Linked DNA regions of Homo sapiens: all the other regions are linked to region 2. The links are contacts of gene promoters, found by promoter capture Hi-C in blood cells and fetal thymus (Javierre and others, 2016). All regions are on one chromosome and are shown on one strand. Each heading gives the region's core, a stretch centred on a gene start or on the middle of the fragment in contact. The rest is flanking DNA. Distances are from core to core; before and after follow the strand shown.

Region 1 (2,700 bases), core at 157-2,656, 220 kb after region 2:
GATTCCTCAAGGATCTAGACCCAGAAATACCATTTGACCCAACAAGCCCATTACTGAGTATATACCCAAAGGATTATAAATCATTCTACTATAAAGACACATGCACACATGTTTATTGCAGCACCATTTACAATAGCAAAGATGTGGAACCAACCCAAATATCCAACAATGATAGACTGGATGAATAAAATGTGGCACATATACACCATGGAATACTATGCAGCCATAAAAAAGAATGAGTTCATGTCGTTTGCAGGGAGATTGATGAAGCTGGAAGCCATCGTTCTCAGCAAACTAACACAGGAACACAAACCCAAACACTGCATATTCTCACTTATAAGTGGGAGTTTAACAATGAGAACACATGGACACAGGGAGGGGAACATCATACACTGGGGCCTGTTGGAGAGTTGGGGGCAAGGGGAGGGAGAGCATTAGGACAAATACCTAACGCATGCGGGGCTTAAAACCTAAATGACGGGTTGATAGGTGCAGCAAACCACCACGGCACATGTATACCTATGTAACAAACCTGCACATTCTGCACATGTATCCCAGAACTTAAAGTAAAATAAAAAACCAAAAATTAAAAAAAAAAAAACACTTCAATAAAAAAAAGATGTCTGTGAACCAAAAAATGTTAAAGTCCACTGAAGATCTCATGTTGACATGTTATGAGTCTGGATTTTTATCCTGAAGGTTATGTGAAGCTATCTAAAGATTTTAAACAGGGAAATCTTTTATTCAGATGTGAGTTTCAAGTACAATCAGCCTGATTTGGGGTTACAGAAAGGAAAGCTGTGGGTCAGAAAGGAGGGATGCTGACAGCTGTTATGAGGGTCTGCAATGAATAATCAAGGTAAAACAAGAGAAGCGACTGAACTCAGGCAGTGTCAGTAGAAGTGGACAAAAGGAGACTGATTACAAAAATATCTAGGAGGCACAGTCAACAGGATTTTGGGGGAGGTTGGATTCAAGAGAAGAGAAAGAGGACTTGGACCACCGGGTATATCTGAGGGGCCATTCAGTGATACAGAAATGAAGGAAGTGAAGCAAGCCAGGGGAGGGGTCAGTGCAAAGAGGAAAAAAGTTTAATTCAGTCTGTAATATCTGAGTTCAAAATACCAACGAGACAGCCAATAAAAATGTTTATGCAGTAATAACTGGGTGTATGGAACTGGAGCGCAATAAAGAAATGCAAGCTGGAGATCCAGGCTTGGAAGTCATCAACTCATTTAGGCTATACTTGCTGCCAAAGGAGCACATAAGATTGCACAATGAAGAGGAGTAGCATGCAAAGAGATGTATGTCAGGAACCCAGTGAACCCCAGACATATAGGAGGAAAAAGCTGGAAGAAATAACAAAAGAAATCAGAAGAAAACCAACAGAAAATGTTGCCCCAAAACTCTCCTCAACTGGCTTTCAAGAAGAAGGTAGCTATTAGTAAACAATGACAAATCTTATAGCATTTTAGAAGACACAAAAACCTAAGTTTCTTCTCTAAGATTACTGAACATAGCAGAGAGAATGAGTTTCATATATGGTCTTGCTTTATCTATGGAAAGTGGGCCGAAAGTTTTTCTGGGACATGTCCTTTTCTCCTCCAGATGGTAGGCGGGGATTTGTGGCCTGGGTCTCCTTATGGGAAACACCAAGAAGAGGAAGGATAGCACCAGAGATAGTGGGGCAACTGCCCGAGAGCAAGGCAGCACTGGCTCACTATCCCACAGCTATGCCCGCCACCCTTCCTCCGTATAGGAAGGGCCAGATTCTAGAGACAGGCTAAAATGGCTGATAGTTGTTTTGCTTGCTTTTATTCAACTAGGAATAAAAAGAAACCAACATGAGGAGCACTCTTTGCTGAAATTTTCCACTGCATCGCTTTTAACCCTGCCCTTTCTCCTGACTTCAAAAGAGTGTTATGAGGACATGATCCTACAATCTTTTACAACTATCTTGAGTCCGTAGATATAGACATGACATCACTGACATATTGAGGATGACAGAGCTTACAGATGGAAGGAAATTGGGTCTTGTGTATTATTATTGAATGCCTAAAACAAACTGGAACACACTAACTTCTGGACTTTTTGTTACATGAAAAAAGAATCAAGCCATATCATTTAATTCTATTTCAGTCAGCTATTCTGTTACTTGCAGTGGAGCATTCTACCTGCTAACCCAACATACTCAAGGCCTAAGCAATGCTATTTAAACATAAATAGAGTAAACATACCTGCTCTGAACAGAAGCCACAGTGCTACTTCTGGAAAAAAAAATCAGACGGTGCAAAATGTCTAACAAACAGGGCAATTTCATATACTTTCCTATTATAATGCAAATGCCTATTTTGACAAAGGCAGTTGAAGCATACAGCCTGAAGTATCTATCATGGTCAAGTTTAAGATTAATGATTCCAGGAAAGATTTGAGCTGAAACACAACAAACTAATAAGCTCTGCACATATCTGTTGTTGAGCTTCCACAGAAAAAGAACAAAGCGTGTCAGAAGAACAGATTAGAATATACAAACAGACTCCTCCCTGTGCCTTAACTTCAGGTTTGAAGCCAGATTCTTTGGTTTTTAAATTTTAGATGTAGCGTCTTTCAACAATCAACAGTATAAATTTCTATAATAATGTTCTCAGAGATAGCAGCAAATCAGACCATTAGGCCAGAATTAAAATGAACATAGAGGCC
Region 2 (2,700 bases), core at 59-2,558:
TGCTCTGTGCAATCATTCAAGAGACAGGCTCCTTTCATGATATGGTCCTGCCACCTGTAACATGAGATTTCAAAGACAGGAGAGAAAACTTGTGTAAAATTATGAAAGAGCTAATGCGATGAGCCCCACTGTCAACATGCCATTAGCTAGAATTTAGTCATAAGGTCCTACCCAATTCCAAAGGTGGATGGAAGACGTTAATTTATCTCAATGCTCAGGAACAATACTTAGTATTGTCTCTGTCACAAAAGGAAAGAGGATACATTCCCAACCTAAGTAACTGAGATTCAGAATTAACCCTGAAATAAGCAGCTACAAACTATAGAGCACTAAAACCAAAAATAATCATAGAAGAAAAGAATATACAAAATTTTGTATAATCTGTTGTTCAGTTAATTTGGAAAGTAACTTTGCTGCCATCTTTCAAACCACCTTAAGCAAAATATTCAGAAACTTCAATAACTAACTAGTATCACCAGTCTTGGCTTGATAAGTAAAGTTACTAGGTATTTGTCGGTTCAACTTACGATACGTTAAACTCTGGAGGTTTAAAAAAAAGTTGCTTAAAAAAAAAAAACAGAATGCAGCTTATTATTTTCCTGAGTTCAGTGTAAGCATAGTTACATTAATGCCGTATGAGTTTAAAATATTGTAAATAAAAAGCACCTTTTTTCAGCTATAACACAAACTCCTCAATAGAGAAATATGGGATATTAGTGCATTAAAATCAACCCCTTTTGAACCCATTCATAATTTATAGCTACCTACATAGTTCTTCCAGCCATACCATGTCTATCTGTATCATTAAATATCCTCTCTGTTTTTCAGGTATTTTAACTGAACCACTACTGGCTGGGTTCTTAATAAAAACAAAAAATTAAGAAGGTAAATAAATTCAGTATCCTAGCCAAAAAGCAGAGTATCTGTTTCAGGAACATAAGACAGTATACTTTCCATTTCATTTTACACACACACATGATGTCTTTTACATAAGAATGAACCTGGCTGCCTGAAGATAGCTTGTTTTGATATCACAGAATGGCCTCTAGGGATCAAGTTGTTTCCCTTGAAAACTTAAAAAGGGAAATTCAGTCTCTTATCCGGCTTGCTTCTCGACTTCAGACTTCAGGAGCTTCTGCATCTGAATCTGTGTCACCCTGCAATTTGTGTCTCTGAAACATAATCCTGTCTCACAGACTCCCATTGCATTGGGATTGGTCAGAAGGAAGCAGAGGAGGAGCCACCGTGAACATGTTTTTTTTCTCTCCACACATCATAAAAATCAGCAGCTGGCGCCTACAGCCCCTAACACTCAAAGCAACGCTCAGGCTGGAAACAGAAGCTTCCGAGAGGCAGCCGATGTGAGCATGTGCGCACAGATTCGTCTCCCAATGGCATGGCAGCTTCAAGGAAAATTATTTTGAACAGACTTGAATGCATAAGATTAAAGTTAAAGCAGAAGTGAGAACAAGAAAGCAAAGAGCAGACTCTTTCAACTGAGAATGAATATTTTGAAGCCCAAGATTTTAAAGTGATGATGATTAGAGTCGTACCTAAAAGAGACTAAAAACTCCATGTCAAGCTCTGGACTTGTGACATTTACTCACAGCAGGCATGGCAATTTTAGCCTCACAACTTTCAGACAGATAAAGACTTGGAGGAAATAACTGAGACGACTCCCTGACCCAGGAGGTTAAATCAATTCAGGGGGACACTGGAATTCTCCTGCCAGCATGGTGAACTCCACCCACCGTGGGATGCACACTTCTCTGCACCTCTGGAACCGCAGCAGTTACAGACTGCACAGCAATGCCAGTGAGTCCCTTGGAAAAGGCTACTCTGATGGAGGGTGCTACGAGCAACTTTTTGTCTCTCCTGAGGTGTTTGTGACTCTGGGTGTCATCAGCTTGTTGGAGAATATCTTAGTGATTGTGGCAATAGCCAAGAACAAGAATCTGCATTCACCCATGTACTTTTTCATCTGCAGCTTGGCTGTGGCTGATATGCTGGTGAGCGTTTCAAATGGATCAGAAACCATTGTCATCACCCTATTAAACAGTACAGATACGGATGCACAGAGTTTCACAGTGAATATTGATAATGTCATTGACTCGGTGATCTGTAGCTCCTTGCTTGCATCCATTTGCAGCCTGCTTTCAATTGCAGTGGACAGGTACTTTACTATCTTCTATGCTCTCCAGTACCATAACATTATGACAGTTAAGCGGGTTGGGATCATCATAAGTTGTATCTGGGCAGCTTGCACGGTTTCAGGCATTTTGTTCATCATTTACTCAGATAGTAGTGCTGTCATCATCTGCCTCATCACCATGTTCTTCACCATGCTGGCTCTCATGGCTTCTCTCTATGTCCACATGTTCCTGATGGCCAGGCTTCACATTAAGAGGATTGCTGTCCTCCCCGGCACTGGTGCCATCCGCCAAGGTGCCAATATGAAGGGAGCGATTACCTTGACCATCCTGATTGGCGTCTTTGTTGTCTGCTGGGCCCCATTCTTCCTCCACTTAATATTCTACATCTCTTGTCCTCAGAATCCATATTGTGTGTGCTTCATGTCTCACTTTAACTTGTATCTCATACTGATCATGTGTAATTCAATCATCGATCCTCTGATTTATGCACTCCGGAGTCAAGAACTGAGGAAAACCTTCAAAGAGATCATCTGTTGCTATCCCCTGG
Region 3 (2,700 bases), core at 84-2,583, 240 kb after region 2:
TGCCCACCTTAGGCAGGTGGTCATGGAACATGGGTTGGAACAAGTAATATTTGAAGGAAGATAAAAGTGGCAAGAAGGAGCCATTCATGTGAGGATTCAGGGAGAGCATTCCCCACCCCCAAGGAAAAAAATGGGACAGCAAGGATGAAAAGCTGAGGGAGGTGTCAAATAAGAAAAAAAATAGCTGCTGATATAGCTGGGAATGGTGAACTAGAAAGTACAAGATTCCAGAGAGGGGGCAGCACCTAGCAGTTTGAGAAACCATGGTCATGAGAGTGGATTCTTACCTAATTGCAGTGGGAGTTCTCAGAGAACTTCATCTCCGGACTCTCAGACTCCTCTCTTCTCTGTTGCCTCTCCCAGCACAGTTTTCCCTTGTAATTTTATGAACCTGTATTCAAGTTGTGCTCTCCTATCTTAATTTTTCTCTTTATATCCTGGGCTCTACTTTGCAAACTGAGTTTAATGACGTTCTGTAGACCCAACTTTTTTTTTTTTTTAAAGACAGAGTCTCGCTCTGTCACCCCAGGCTGGAGTGCAGTGGCACAATCTCGGCTCACTGCAACCTCCACCTCCAGGTTCAAGCGATTCTCCTGCCTCAGCTTCCCCAGTAGCTGGGATTACAGGTGCGCATCACCACACCCAGTTAATTTCTGTATTTTTAGTAGAGACAGGGTTTCACCATGTTGGCCAGCCTGGTCTCGAACTTTTGACCTCAAGTAATCTGCCCGACTCTGCCTCCCAAAGTGCTGGGATTGCACCAGCACTTTGAGCAGTTTGAGAAACCATGGTCATGAGAGTGGATTCTTACCTAATTGCAGTGGGAGTTCTCAGAGAACTTCATCTCCAGACTATCAGACTCCTCTCTTCTCTGGTGCCTCTCCCAGGCACAGTTTTCCCTTTTACTTTTATGAACCTGTATTCAAGTTCATAAGAGAGCCACCGCGCCCAGCCAAGACCCAACATTCTAATTTTCAACATTCCCCAAATTGCTAATTTATTCCCTCCTTTGTTCAACTATGAGCTCTGATACGTAACATATGCATGCACTAAAATAAAAATTTAATAACATTTGTGAAAAATAAACTGAACAAAACACTTAAAATATCTGTTCTTTGGAGTACCATAGTTAATTTTATAAACTTGCTTCATTGTTTATTCAGATCACTGACCCCTCAACAACTTGGTGGAACATTAAATTAACACATTATTGTTCCACCTCCTGGTTGTGCCTCTTTTTCTCCAATGTCAATGCTACAGTGTATGAGGGACCAAATCCACTTTGCATAAGCAGTTAAACTCACAGCCTAACAGGATTTGGAATACCTAATAACTGTGTCTGGGGATTATGTTTTTCTTAAATCTCAGACTTTTGGTTAAGGATTTAGACATATGGTCCCATACAAAGCAATCTGGTACACGAGAACTGTTTTGTCTATCATGAGTCTCAGAAGGGTTATATCACTGGTTTGGATGATACAGGAAAGAAAAGTAAAATTTTAGTTATGCTTCTGAAGCATTAATTCAAGACCCTGCACATCTGCCCACAGTTGACCTTCCTAACTTGTTCTGTAGTGAAGGGTAAGGCACTTTTCTATACTAATTTGTCTGGGCCCATGAGTATCCTTGTATTATGAATGGTTTCCATGAGAATTGAGGGCTTTCTAAAGATAGTCACATGCTGAAAAAAACAACAACTTAGGGCCCTGTGCTATGATGAAGAAGAGATACTTCCCCTTGGATACTGTAAAATAATTTTTAGGAAACCAAAATCTACTCAAATGTTTCAGTAGAAAGTGACTAAAAGTAATTGGATCAAGGTGCATGGTTTTTGTTTTTGTTTTTGTTTTTGTTTTTGTGTTAGGAGGGAACTGGAGTAATTGTTTTTTTTTTTTTTTTTTTATACTTTCAGTTCTAGGGTACATGTGCACAACATGCAGCTTTGTTACATATGTATACATGTGCCATGTTGGTGTGCTGTACCCATTAACTCATCATTTATATTAGGTATTTCTCCTAATGCTATCCCTCCCCGCTCCCACCACCCCATGACAGGCCCTGGTGTGTGAAGTTCCCCACCCTGTGTCCAAGTGTTCTCATTGTTCAATTCCCACCTATAAGTGAGAACATGCGGTGTTTGGTTTTCTGTCCTTGCGATAGTTTGCTCAGAATGATGGTTTCCAGCTTCATCTATGTCCCTACAAAGGACATGAACTCATCCTTTTTTATGGCTGCATAGTATTCCATGATGTATATGTGCCACATTTTCTTAATCCAGTCTATCATTGATGGACATTTGAGTTGGTTCCAACTCTTTGCTATTGTGAATAGTGCAGCAACAAACATACGTGTGCATGTGTCTTTATAGTAGAATGATTTATAATCCTTTGGGTATATATACCCAATAATGGGATGGCTGGGTCAAATGGTATTTCTAGTTCTAGATCCTTGAGGAATCACCACACTGTCAAGCCAAGCACAGAAAGTCAAATATCACATTCTCACTCACATGTGGGAGCTAAAAAAAAAAGTGAATCTCATGAAGATAGAGAGTAGATCAGTGATTACCAGAGCCTGGAAGGGTACTAGGGAGGTGGGATGAGAGGCTGATTAATGGGTACAAATATACTTTTTGATAGAAGAAATAAGAGCTAGTATTAGACAGACAACTAGGGTGACTATAGTTTACAACACTCTATC

What was found. Contacts are between HindIII fragments. The CHiCAGO score rates a contact against its expected background, and 5 or more counts as called.
Region 1: a contact is called between a fragment that was not itself captured here and the fragment with the promoter of MC4R in region 2, in 1 of 17 cell types (fetal thymus). The highest score is 5.2, in fetal thymus.
Region 3: a contact is called between a fragment that was not itself captured here and the fragment with the promoter of MC4R in region 2, in 1 of 17 cell types (fetal thymus). The highest score is 5.4, in fetal thymus.

Annotation. Positions count from the first base shown.
Region 1 is chr18:60,152,018-60,154,717 of GRCh38, reverse strand. The region is part of intron 2 of LINC03111 (long intergenic non-protein coding RNA 3111); the gene reads right to left. Among named protein-coding and RNA genes, the nearest start is that of LINC03111, 28 kb to the right of the region's middle. The HindIII fragment of the contact is 4,802 bases long and covers 1-2,700 here.
Region 2 is chr18:60,371,383-60,374,082 of GRCh38, reverse strand. MC4R (melanocortin 4 receptor) reads left to right here and starts at 1,308. Exons shown (of 1, transcript NM_005912.3): 1 at 1,308-2,700. The coding sequence starts at 1,734. The HindIII fragment of the contact is 4,351 bases long and covers 1-1,344 here.
Region 3 is chr18:60,133,660-60,136,359 of GRCh38, reverse strand. All of the region lies in intron 2 of LINC03111 (long intergenic non-protein coding RNA 3111), which reads right to left. Among named protein-coding and RNA genes, the nearest start is that of LINC03111, 10 kb to the right of the region's middle. The HindIII fragment of the contact is 9,080 bases long and covers 1-2,700 here.